Regions from separate parts of the Homo sapiens genome. Here region 2 is linked to region 1. The links are contacts of gene promoters, found by promoter capture Hi-C in blood cells and fetal thymus (Javierre and others, 2016). All regions are on one chromosome and are shown on one strand. The core of a region is centred on a gene start or on the middle of the fragment in contact, and the rest is flanking DNA. Distances in the headings are between cores, read along the strand shown. Region 1 holds the start of NCOA7-AS1 (NCOA7 antisense RNA 1). Region 2 overlaps NCOA7 (nuclear receptor coactivator 7).

Region 1 (4,714 bases), core at 1,027-3,526:
AGGAAGACATCAGGCATCTAATGGATGAGGCACCAGAAAGATAGGATATTTAGAATAAATAAGATCTCCAAAGTTTTTATTTTGAGATAATTTTAGATTCACATGTAGTTAGTTGTAAGGAGTAATAGATACCCTGTATTCTTTATCCATAGTACAGTATCACAACTAGGAAATTCATATTGATACAATCCACCAGCCTTATTCAGAGCATTCATTGTATGTGTGTTTGTGTGTATTTAGTTCCATGCAGTTATATCACATGTAGATTTCTGTGGTCACCATCAGTCAAGATACAGAACAGTTGCATTAAAAGGATCCCACATGCTACCTTTTTGTATCCCTACTCACTCCTTCCATCTGCCTGCCTCCTCTGACAACCACTATAATTTGTCATTTCAAGAATACTAGGTGAATGGAATCATATAGTATGTAACCTTTGGCATTTAGCTTTTTCTTCCCTTCAGCATTACTCCCTTGACATCCCTCAAAGCTGTTGCATGTATCGATAGTTTGTTCCTTTTTATTGCACAGTAGCATTCCATAGTATGGATGAATCACAGCTTTTTAGTCATTTACCCATTGAAGGGCATTTAGGTTGTTTCCAGTTTGGGCTATTTATGAACAAAGATGCTAGATGCTACAATCATTTATGTACAAGTTTTTGTATGAGCATGAGTTTTCATTTCCCTGAGATAATTGTCTGAGAGTGCAATTGCTGGGTCAAAAGATAAGTGTATTTTTAGTTTTATAAAAAAGTGCAATACTCTTTTCTGGAATGGTTGTAACATTTGACATTCCCATCAGCAAAGTCTGAGTAATCCAGTTTGTCTGCATTGTCATTTGGTGGTGTCAATATTTTTTATTTTTATCTTAGCTATTCTGATAAGTATGTAGTGATATCTCATTATGGTTTTAATTTGTATTTCCTTAATGGTTAGTGAAGTTTAACATTTTCATGTGCTTATTATTAGCCATAGTGTATCTTCTTTAGTGGCATCTCCTTTCCTATCTTTTGCCCATTTTCTAATTGAATTGTTTAGGTTTTTACTGTTGAATTGTACACATTCTAGTCTTTTGTTGGATATGTGATTTGCAAATATTTTCTCCCGGACTGTAGTTTGTCTTTTCATCCAGTTAACAGAGTTGCAGAGCAAAAGGTTTTAATTTTGATGTGGTTCAATTTATCAGTTTCTCCTTTTATGAATTGTGCTTTTGGTCTGAATTCTAAGATCTCTTTGCCTAGCTGTATGTTCTGAAGATTCTCTCCTGTTTTTCTTTTCTGAAAATTTTATAGCATTATGTTTTATATTTAAGTCTGTGATCCATTTTGAATTTATTTGTGGATAAGATATGAGTTTAGGTCAAAATGGTGGTCATGCTTCTCCTCCCCTTCCTCCCCGTCTCCCTTCCTCACCTCCTCCCTTTCTTCCTGCTCCTCTTCCTGCTCCTCTTCCTCCTCTTCTTCCTCCTCCCCCTTCCCGCTTCTCCCCCTTCCTTCTTTCTCCCACCTCCTCCTTCCTCCTCCTCCTTACTTTCTTCTTCTTTCTTTTCTTTCTTCTTCACTTGCCCTACATAGTGATTTTAAGAGCTATAGTGCCTTCTCAGCCTGAATCCAAAGTGATTCCTGTAGTAAAGGTAACTGCCGGTTCATGAACAACCTGCTCAATGTTAACCTCTTCTTGTTCCTAAAATGTAGAGTCAGGGGAGCCCCTGAAACTGAGAATACAAACCAAAACTGTTCTGGAAGAGCAGCACAGTTTTTTCAACTCAGAAATGTAAAATTGTCTTGCTTATCATGACCTCTTCTGAAAAGTATTCTAAAAATGAAACAAAAAACGTATCCTAAAATGCTGAAATGTGATCTTGGGAGCATAGGGACAGTGGCACAAGGATGAAATCAGTGATGCTCTTAAGACAGTAAGACAACATGATTTGTAACTAGGAAATGAGAGAGATGGAGAGAGGAGAATGGAGAGAAGAGGGGGTAGGAGCAGGGAGAGAGAGAAAGAGACAGAGAGAGAAACACTGACTGACAAACCTGTAGTTTAGCTCTTACAATGCAGTGGAAGCCAGAAATGGTCAAGCTATTAAAAGCAAAAGGCAAACCAAAGAGAAAAGAACCCCCTTCAGCCTATAATCAGAAAAGAGCCATCCAAAGTTATACATCTTTTCAAATGCCTTCTGACTTAACTGTGGAATTACCATGTGGAACTAGCAACAGAACTTACTTGAAAGCTGGTTTCTGACAATGTAGAGCAGAGTTCTCTGGAGCAGCGTACTTAAGGGCAGTCCAAGCAAGATCTCTGGAGAGAAGGATAAAATGTCAGGCCAAGGGTGAGGCCAAACTGATGCAATCTCAGTTTTCTCTAAACTAAATTATACCACCTTACATAAATCTCAACTGGTGTTCTGAGGAAGTCAAAAGGAAGATTTACCCTGATGCTGTGCCTGCTGCCACAATTACATATCTGAAACCCTAAAAACTGCTTTTTAGCCTGCTTCCCCCTTCCACCTAGGAAAAACTAGGAACACCTAGTTTTTCCTCCTGAGTAGTTAAATAGCCAATGTTTTCTTTGTGTGCTATCTTATCATGTGGTTTCATAATCGTTGTGTGACTGTGTTTGATAAATAGTCCTTTGCCAAACCTGTTTTGTTGACGTTTCGCTCTTTAACATCAAAATAGAGTTTAAAATACCCTATTTTAATAATTTTGGATTGAAATTAGTGATTTGAGGGTCACCCAGTCTTTCCTTTCTTATAATTTATCTTGAAATATGCCTGTGTAACTCTAAATAGAGGGGTGGATTAATACTGCTACTAGATAGAGTAATTCTGGATAAGACCTGATGAATTTTTTGGATTTTCTGACCCTGGTCCAACTGGTTTTCAGGTGCTTCAGGATAGTTTTATAACAGTTGTTAAATCTAGATTGAATGATTTGTGAAACTTTTTCACAAATGGTTTTGCAAATAATTTATATATGCAAAATTAGTATATGTCTATATTAATTTCTTGATCCCTGACAGGTCTTGAAAACCAAATGAAAAACTGAATTACTAAAGCAAATTATACTTTCTGTACTATTTGTACTGTGTACAATTTATGCTATCCTCTGGGGTGACTATCATGTGTCATTTGTTACACCCCTGCTGACTCTTCCTTCCCCTTGTAGTTAGAATGCAAAATTTTCTTTAGTATTGCCATACAGGGCTGTCTTCTTACACACTTGCTTGACATTATTTGGCTTTTGTGATTTCCGAGTAGGTCCTTGTATGCCATTGGTTGAAGATTCTTTGAAAGCATTTTTTCAGGATCAAGCGTTGATTGAAGATATCCAAAATACATCTGTAGTTGAACCAAATGGTGTTTTGTGGGAGGTTTACTTTTCCCCTCTGATAAGGTGTGAGAGCCTGGGAGTAAACAGTGAGTAATATAGACGAAGACACAGACTGGGTGTTCATGTAGGTCCCTTGTTGGCTCCCACCTCCCCTATTCCCTGGTTGTCATGAAAAGCAGAACTGCTGCTCCCACCTCCGCTTTCCTCTTAACCCAGCCTTTCAGAGCAGCAGTAGGAGCCAGCACCACCTCTGTCATCATTCTCAGTGACAAAGGATGCAAAGTGTAGAACATTTCTTAGCTCCCATCTCCAGCCTCTGCCCTGGCAATTCTTCACCCTTGAACCTCTGACCCACAAGCAGAACACCTAGTGTTTGCAGTTCACTCCAGTGTATAACCTCTGGCAAGTCTTCTAAGCTTCCTTTACCTTACATTTCTTCAGTTGTTAAATGTTGCTAAAAATAACCAACTAACAAGATGCTTTTGAAGAAGGAGACATCCCAACCAGCCAGAACTGGAGAGAAGCTCAAATGGGACCCAGCAAGGAGGGCCAGAGCTGAACAGCTGGTCCCCTTATTCTCTTTTCCATGGCAGAGGAGATTTGAACCCACTGTATAGCTTTCTCTGTTGTGTGAATAGTACACTTTGTAGCTTTCGTGTTCAAGTAAAATGAAACCAAGATGGCTATGAAGATTGAGGGTAATATACGAACAGTACCTGATACAGTGAGTACTCACACATTCCTTTAATAACAAATCATTCCTGATCTTACTTCTGTGTCTACCTACATCTTCACCTAATTTTCATCTTGACCTCCCACTTTCAGCCCATGAGCTGCTCCTGTTGTTCAGATCAGGGAAGAAGGAACACTTAACGACAATCCAAATTGGAACCATATCATTTCCCAAAGATACTTTGCTATAAGCACAGTTAGTTAGGTTCTGGGATATAATGAAGTGGAGTTATATAGTCAAAGGGCCTTGAGAAACCTAACAGTCTTTTATTTAACAGTTGGACCCTAAGCCCATGAGGTGAAAGGGTCCATGATAGGCTGGCTCTATCCCAGGGTACTTTTAGATATATTAATTGGTAATCAGAGCCTCACCACTTGAGTGGCTTGATGAACCGTCATGTCAAGCGGCGTGCCAGTGATACTGGCCCCCTTGGTCCTCAGAGTGGCCAGGCAGGGATTGGGTTTGTCAGAGACCTGGGCTGGTCATCTTTAGCTATGATCAGCATCTTACCCCAGGGATGAGTAGAAGTATTATCATCTTTCTGCATGCCTTGATATGAAAAAGGCTTTTGTAAAAAGTGATCCAGATTATCTTCATACCAAACATCTGATTTAAAAAAAGTTCATCCCTAAATATAATTTGAC
Region 2 (4,729 bases), core at 772-3,271, 61 kb after region 1:
TATCAAGCAGTGTGCTGAGCCCAGGAGAAAACATTTTGCCAGCTTTGCCATACAAGCCAGCAGTTTATAGTATATGGAAAAGTCATGCAAATAGACAGAAAATTATAAGAGAGAAAGTAGCCCCACTTCCCCTGAGGGTGGGGACTCTGTGTACATCGTATTTCTTTTCTTGTTGTAGTCTTCATTACAGCTCACGGACCTTTACTTCATGCGCCTCAGTTGCACCAAAGTAAAATTAGAAATCTATTAGGGGACAGTGAAATTTGAAAATGAGGAAGCCCAGAAATGAATTGCATTTAAGACTTTGCTGTAAAATGATTTTATTAAGAATTGACAATGTATTCATTCTTTCTTATAGTCTATCTTGATGGAACTATTAGTTTGTTATTTATTCATATTGCAGATAAATTAATAGTATCTATCAAAAGTAATTTTTTTTGCTTTATTTATTGACTCTTACCTGTTTGATTATTCTAGGCTGGAAACCAGGACACCCTAAACTCCATAGCACTGAAATTTAACATCACTCCCAATAAATTGGTGGAACTGAATAAACTTTTCACACATACTATTGTTCCAGGCCAGGTAATTATACTCTTACTGGATATAACTCTAGAAATTCTGCATTTATCTTTTATTGCCGTTTTCAGTGCCTCACTATTGTTTGTCACAGGATTATGATAAATGATAATGTGCTTTGGTTCAATATTTTCTCTCCTTTATTTTTATTTATTTATTTTTTGAGACAGGGTCTTGCTCTGTTGCCCAGGCTGGAGTGCAGTGACACCATCATGGCTCACTGCAGCCTCAATCCCCTGGGCTCAAGCAATCCTCCCACCTCAGCCTCCCAAGTAGCTGGGATTACAGACATGAGCCACTGCACCCAGCTCAACTTTACGATATTTTCATATTCACAGGATACCTTGGCTACACATGCTTAAAATTTTTTTCCAGGCTGAAATGACAGCATTGCTGTATGGTTAAGAACTTTAAGACCTCAAATCCTGATTGGCATATGTGTTGGGAGCAAACCCAAAATTATTTTCTGAAGGCAATAGGAAACTTTCACCCCTGCCCATGATCCAGGCTCACTTCCATGTTGAGGTAGCACATGTTCTGGCGGCTGCTCACCTCTCTTTACAGTGCAGTCAACTGTTTAAGCACAGGAATTACTCCTTAGATTTGACATTTGGAATGTTCAGACAATTGAATCGCAATCTATGTTACCTAATACTTTTTTTAAGAGTTCAGATGCAAAAAAAATTTACTATTAGTGGAGAATTGCTTGGGAAAAACATCATCCATCCATTACTCTAGTTTAGCTATATAAGATAAATAAGAGCTATATACCAAGATCACAAAATTTTAGTCCTTTGTAAATTGCTTTTTACAGAACTCTAAACTTTGGCATTTCCATTGACCCATATTGAAGATGCTATAAAAGGCAATACTCCAAAACTGGTTATTGTATTTACTGTTAGTGCATCATAGAGGACAAATAATTCAGTCTAGGATGCTCCTTTGTATGAGATTCTGTAGGAGAGTACTTGTACTTCTGAGAAACTTCATTTTTATCTCATGGAAGTTGAATTCTGCTAACTAATGATGTTGTCTCTTTGCATTAATTATATGGAAACTCAGAGTCACTTTTATGGCCCACTTCTTAATGAGTGGTTACCAGTTTTGGTGCATATATTTTTAGTAGTTATCAGTCCTCATCTTATATCCCCCCTTGACTTTGATTTTCCCACTTTTATTTTAATGTGTTTTTTTATTGTTGTCTCAAATATTTTCTGGATTGAAGTGAGGTTTAAATGACTGGAAAGATAGGAGACAGTGAATAACAATATTGATCAGTAATCAGTTGTTATATGATTAGCTCTGAATTCTGTTTTATAACATTAAAGGTCATCATTTTAAGATTATATTTGGCCGGGCACAGTGGCTCATCCTTGTAATTCCAGCACTTTGGAGGCCAAGGTAGGCAGATCACTTGAGGTCAGGACTTCAAGGACAGCCTGACCAACATGGTGAAACCCCATCTCTACTAAAAATACAAAAATTAGCCAGTAGCCAGGCTTGGTGGTGGGTTCCTATAATCCCAGCTACTTGGGAGGCTGAGGCAGGAGAATCTCTTGAATGTGGGAGGTGGAGGTTGCAGTGAGCTGAGATTATGCCACTGCACTCCAGCCTGGGTGACAAGAGTGAAACTCCATCTCAGAAAAAGACAAAAGATTATATTTGATACATGCCACAATGTAGCATGTCTCATTAAAAGAATATTGAATGACAGGATTGTAGTAATGTTTTGAGAACCAGAATGTTTTGCAGAGGTTGCTATTCTGTATAATTTTTTGGGGTGGGGGTAGTTTTTAGTTACACATAACCCAGACACTGTTGGAAGAGAAAATATTGGGATTATTTTATTGATATTACCTTATACAATTTATCATATAAGGACCTACTGCTTTAGAACTCAGAGCCTGCTTGGAGTTAGCAAGCTGGGTTTGTTCCATTTCTACCTGGCACAGATATTAAGTTTAGAAGCCATGCTTCTCTCTCCTCATTTCCCTTATACTATTAGTCTCCCACCTTGGAGGGCTCTTCCCTCTCTCCTATCCAATTTCTACTTGTTCTTCAAGGCTTCAGTTGGACCCACTTGCTTCACTTGGCCTGCCCAGAATACTTACCCACCTTGCTCTCTCTTTTCTTTTTATTTATTTATTTATTTATATTTTATTTTATTTTATTTTATTTTTTGAGGTGGAGTCTCCCTCTGTCACCCAGGCTGGAGTGCAGTGGCACGATCTTGGCTCACTGCAACCTCTGCCTCCTGGGTTCAAGAGATTCTCCTGCCTCAGCCTCCCCGAGTATCTGGGACTACAGGTGCGAGCCACCATGCCCAGCTAAATTTTTTTGTATTTTTAGTAAAGACAAGGTTTCACCATGTTGGCCAGGCTGGTCTCAAACTCTTGACCTCAGGTGATCTGCCCACCTTGGTCTCCCAAAGTGCTGGGATTACAGGCATGAGCCACTGTGCCTGGCCTTGCTCTCCCTTTCTTTTTGAGTTCTTGCAGTGTCTACAGGCATGTTCTGTACCCTTTGTACTACACACATTCATATGCTGAGTATCATTTCATGGATTAGTCTAGAAAACCGTAAGTTGCTTATGAGTTTCTTGAAAGCAACCTAGGTCGTAATCATGCACTGAACATGATACTGTGTAGAGAATAACTTCTCCAAACACTCACTAGTGGTTTGCCTGGTTGCTGGTACTCACCCATCTGTTCTCTCCCATTCTCAGGTCCTTTTTGTGCCAGATGCCAACTCTCCTTCCAGTACCTTAAGGCTATCATCATCCAGTCCTGGTGCTACTGTCTCTCCTTCATCATCAGATGCAGAATATGATAAATTGCCTGTATGTATATTATGCACTGAAGTTCATTTTTATTAAAGAGACTTCTTTTAAGTTGTAGAATTCAACATGTTATTTTTCACAAGATTACATCTGAAATTCTCCCTAGATGGTTGAGATTAGGTAATTGGAGAATGCATCCTCTCCAAGGGAAACTTATTCACATTTAAGGTTTCAAAGGCAAAAATGGCCAGACACAGTGGCTCAGCCTGTAGTCCCAGCACTCTGGGAGGCCGAGGCAGAAGGATTGCCTGAGCCCAGGAGTTTGAGACCAGCCTGGGCAATATAGTGAGATTCTGTCTCTACGAAATATTTTAAAAATTAGCCAGACATGGTGGCTCAAACCTGTAGTCCCACCTACTCAGGAGGCTGTGGTGGGAGGATCACTTGAGCCTGGGAGGTTGAGGCTGTGGTGAGCCATGATCGTACCACTGCACTCTAGCCTGGGTGACAGAGTGAAACCCTATCTCAAAAAAAAAAAAAAAAAAAAGGCAAAAATGCATGCCTTGTGTAAAAGTATGAAGTTAAATTTCCAGTGACATGGATAGTTTATTTGTATTCCTCCTTTTTTTAAAAAAAAAAAACAAATTGAGTCATGAGTCTAATATGAATTTTTTCATTTAGGTTACTAGGTTAGTGTTTATTTTGTTGTTGTTGTTTGTGTGTGTGAGACAGAGTCTTTCTCCGTCACCCAGACTGCTGTAGTGCAATGGCACGATCTTCGCTTACTGCAACCTCCGCCTCCTAGTTTCAAGCGATTCTCCTGCCTCAGCCTCCTAAGTAGCTGGGATTACAGGCACCGGCCACTATGCCCAGCTAATTTTTGTATTTTTACTGGAGACAGGGTTTCACCATATTAGTCAGGCAGGTCCCGAACTCCTGACCTCAGGTGATCTGCCCACCCCGGCCTCCCAAAGTGCTGGGATTACAGGCGTGAGCCACCACACCCAGCCCATTTAGGTTAGTTTCTAAAGACATTTCATGAGTAAGTTTTATGGGTTCATACATATGCCTTTGCTTTTTTTAAAAGAAAAAAAAAACAGTTTGATTTGGGTATCTGTTATTACATTTGTGATATTTTTGAAGGACAGAGGATATTTGCCTTTTTAATGTTCCACTTAAATAGAAATAGTATACTCACAGGGAATTTATGGGGCTTGATTTATACACATAATTTGTTTGAAAAGTGCTTTTATTTGATTTTGAAATTTTTTGCTTTCACAAGGATGCTGACTTAGCACGAAAGGCCTTGAAACCCATTGAAAGAGTCTTATCGTCTACTTCTGAAGAAGATGAGCCAGGTGTGGTGAAATT

What was found. The method cuts DNA at HindIII sites, captures the fragments that hold promoters and counts their contacts. A CHiCAGO score of 5 or more calls a contact.
Region 2: a contact is called between a fragment that was not itself captured here and the fragment with the promoter of NCOA7-AS1 in region 1, in 2 of 17 cell types (activated CD4 T cells and non-activated CD4 T cells). The highest score is 5.5, in activated CD4 T cells.

What each region holds. Positions count from the first base shown.
Region 1 is chr6:125,816,582-125,821,295 of GRCh38, forward strand. NCOA7-AS1 (NCOA7 antisense RNA 1) reads right to left here and starts at 2,277. Exons shown (of 3, transcript NR_126386.1): 1 at 2,229-2,277. All of the region lies in intron 2 of NCOA7 (nuclear receptor coactivator 7), which reads left to right. RefSeq lists an enhancer at 1,502-2,003. The HindIII fragment of the contact is 4,548 bases long and covers 1-3,751 here.
Region 2 is chr6:125,877,786-125,882,514 of GRCh38, forward strand. It overlaps NCOA7 (nuclear receptor coactivator 7), which reads left to right. Exons shown (of 16, transcript NM_181782.5): 5 at 478-585; 6 at 3,305-3,418; 7 at 4,641-4,729. Among named protein-coding and RNA genes, the nearest start is that of NCOA7-AS1, 61 kb to the left of the region's middle. The HindIII fragment of the contact is 9,442 bases long and covers 1-4,729 here.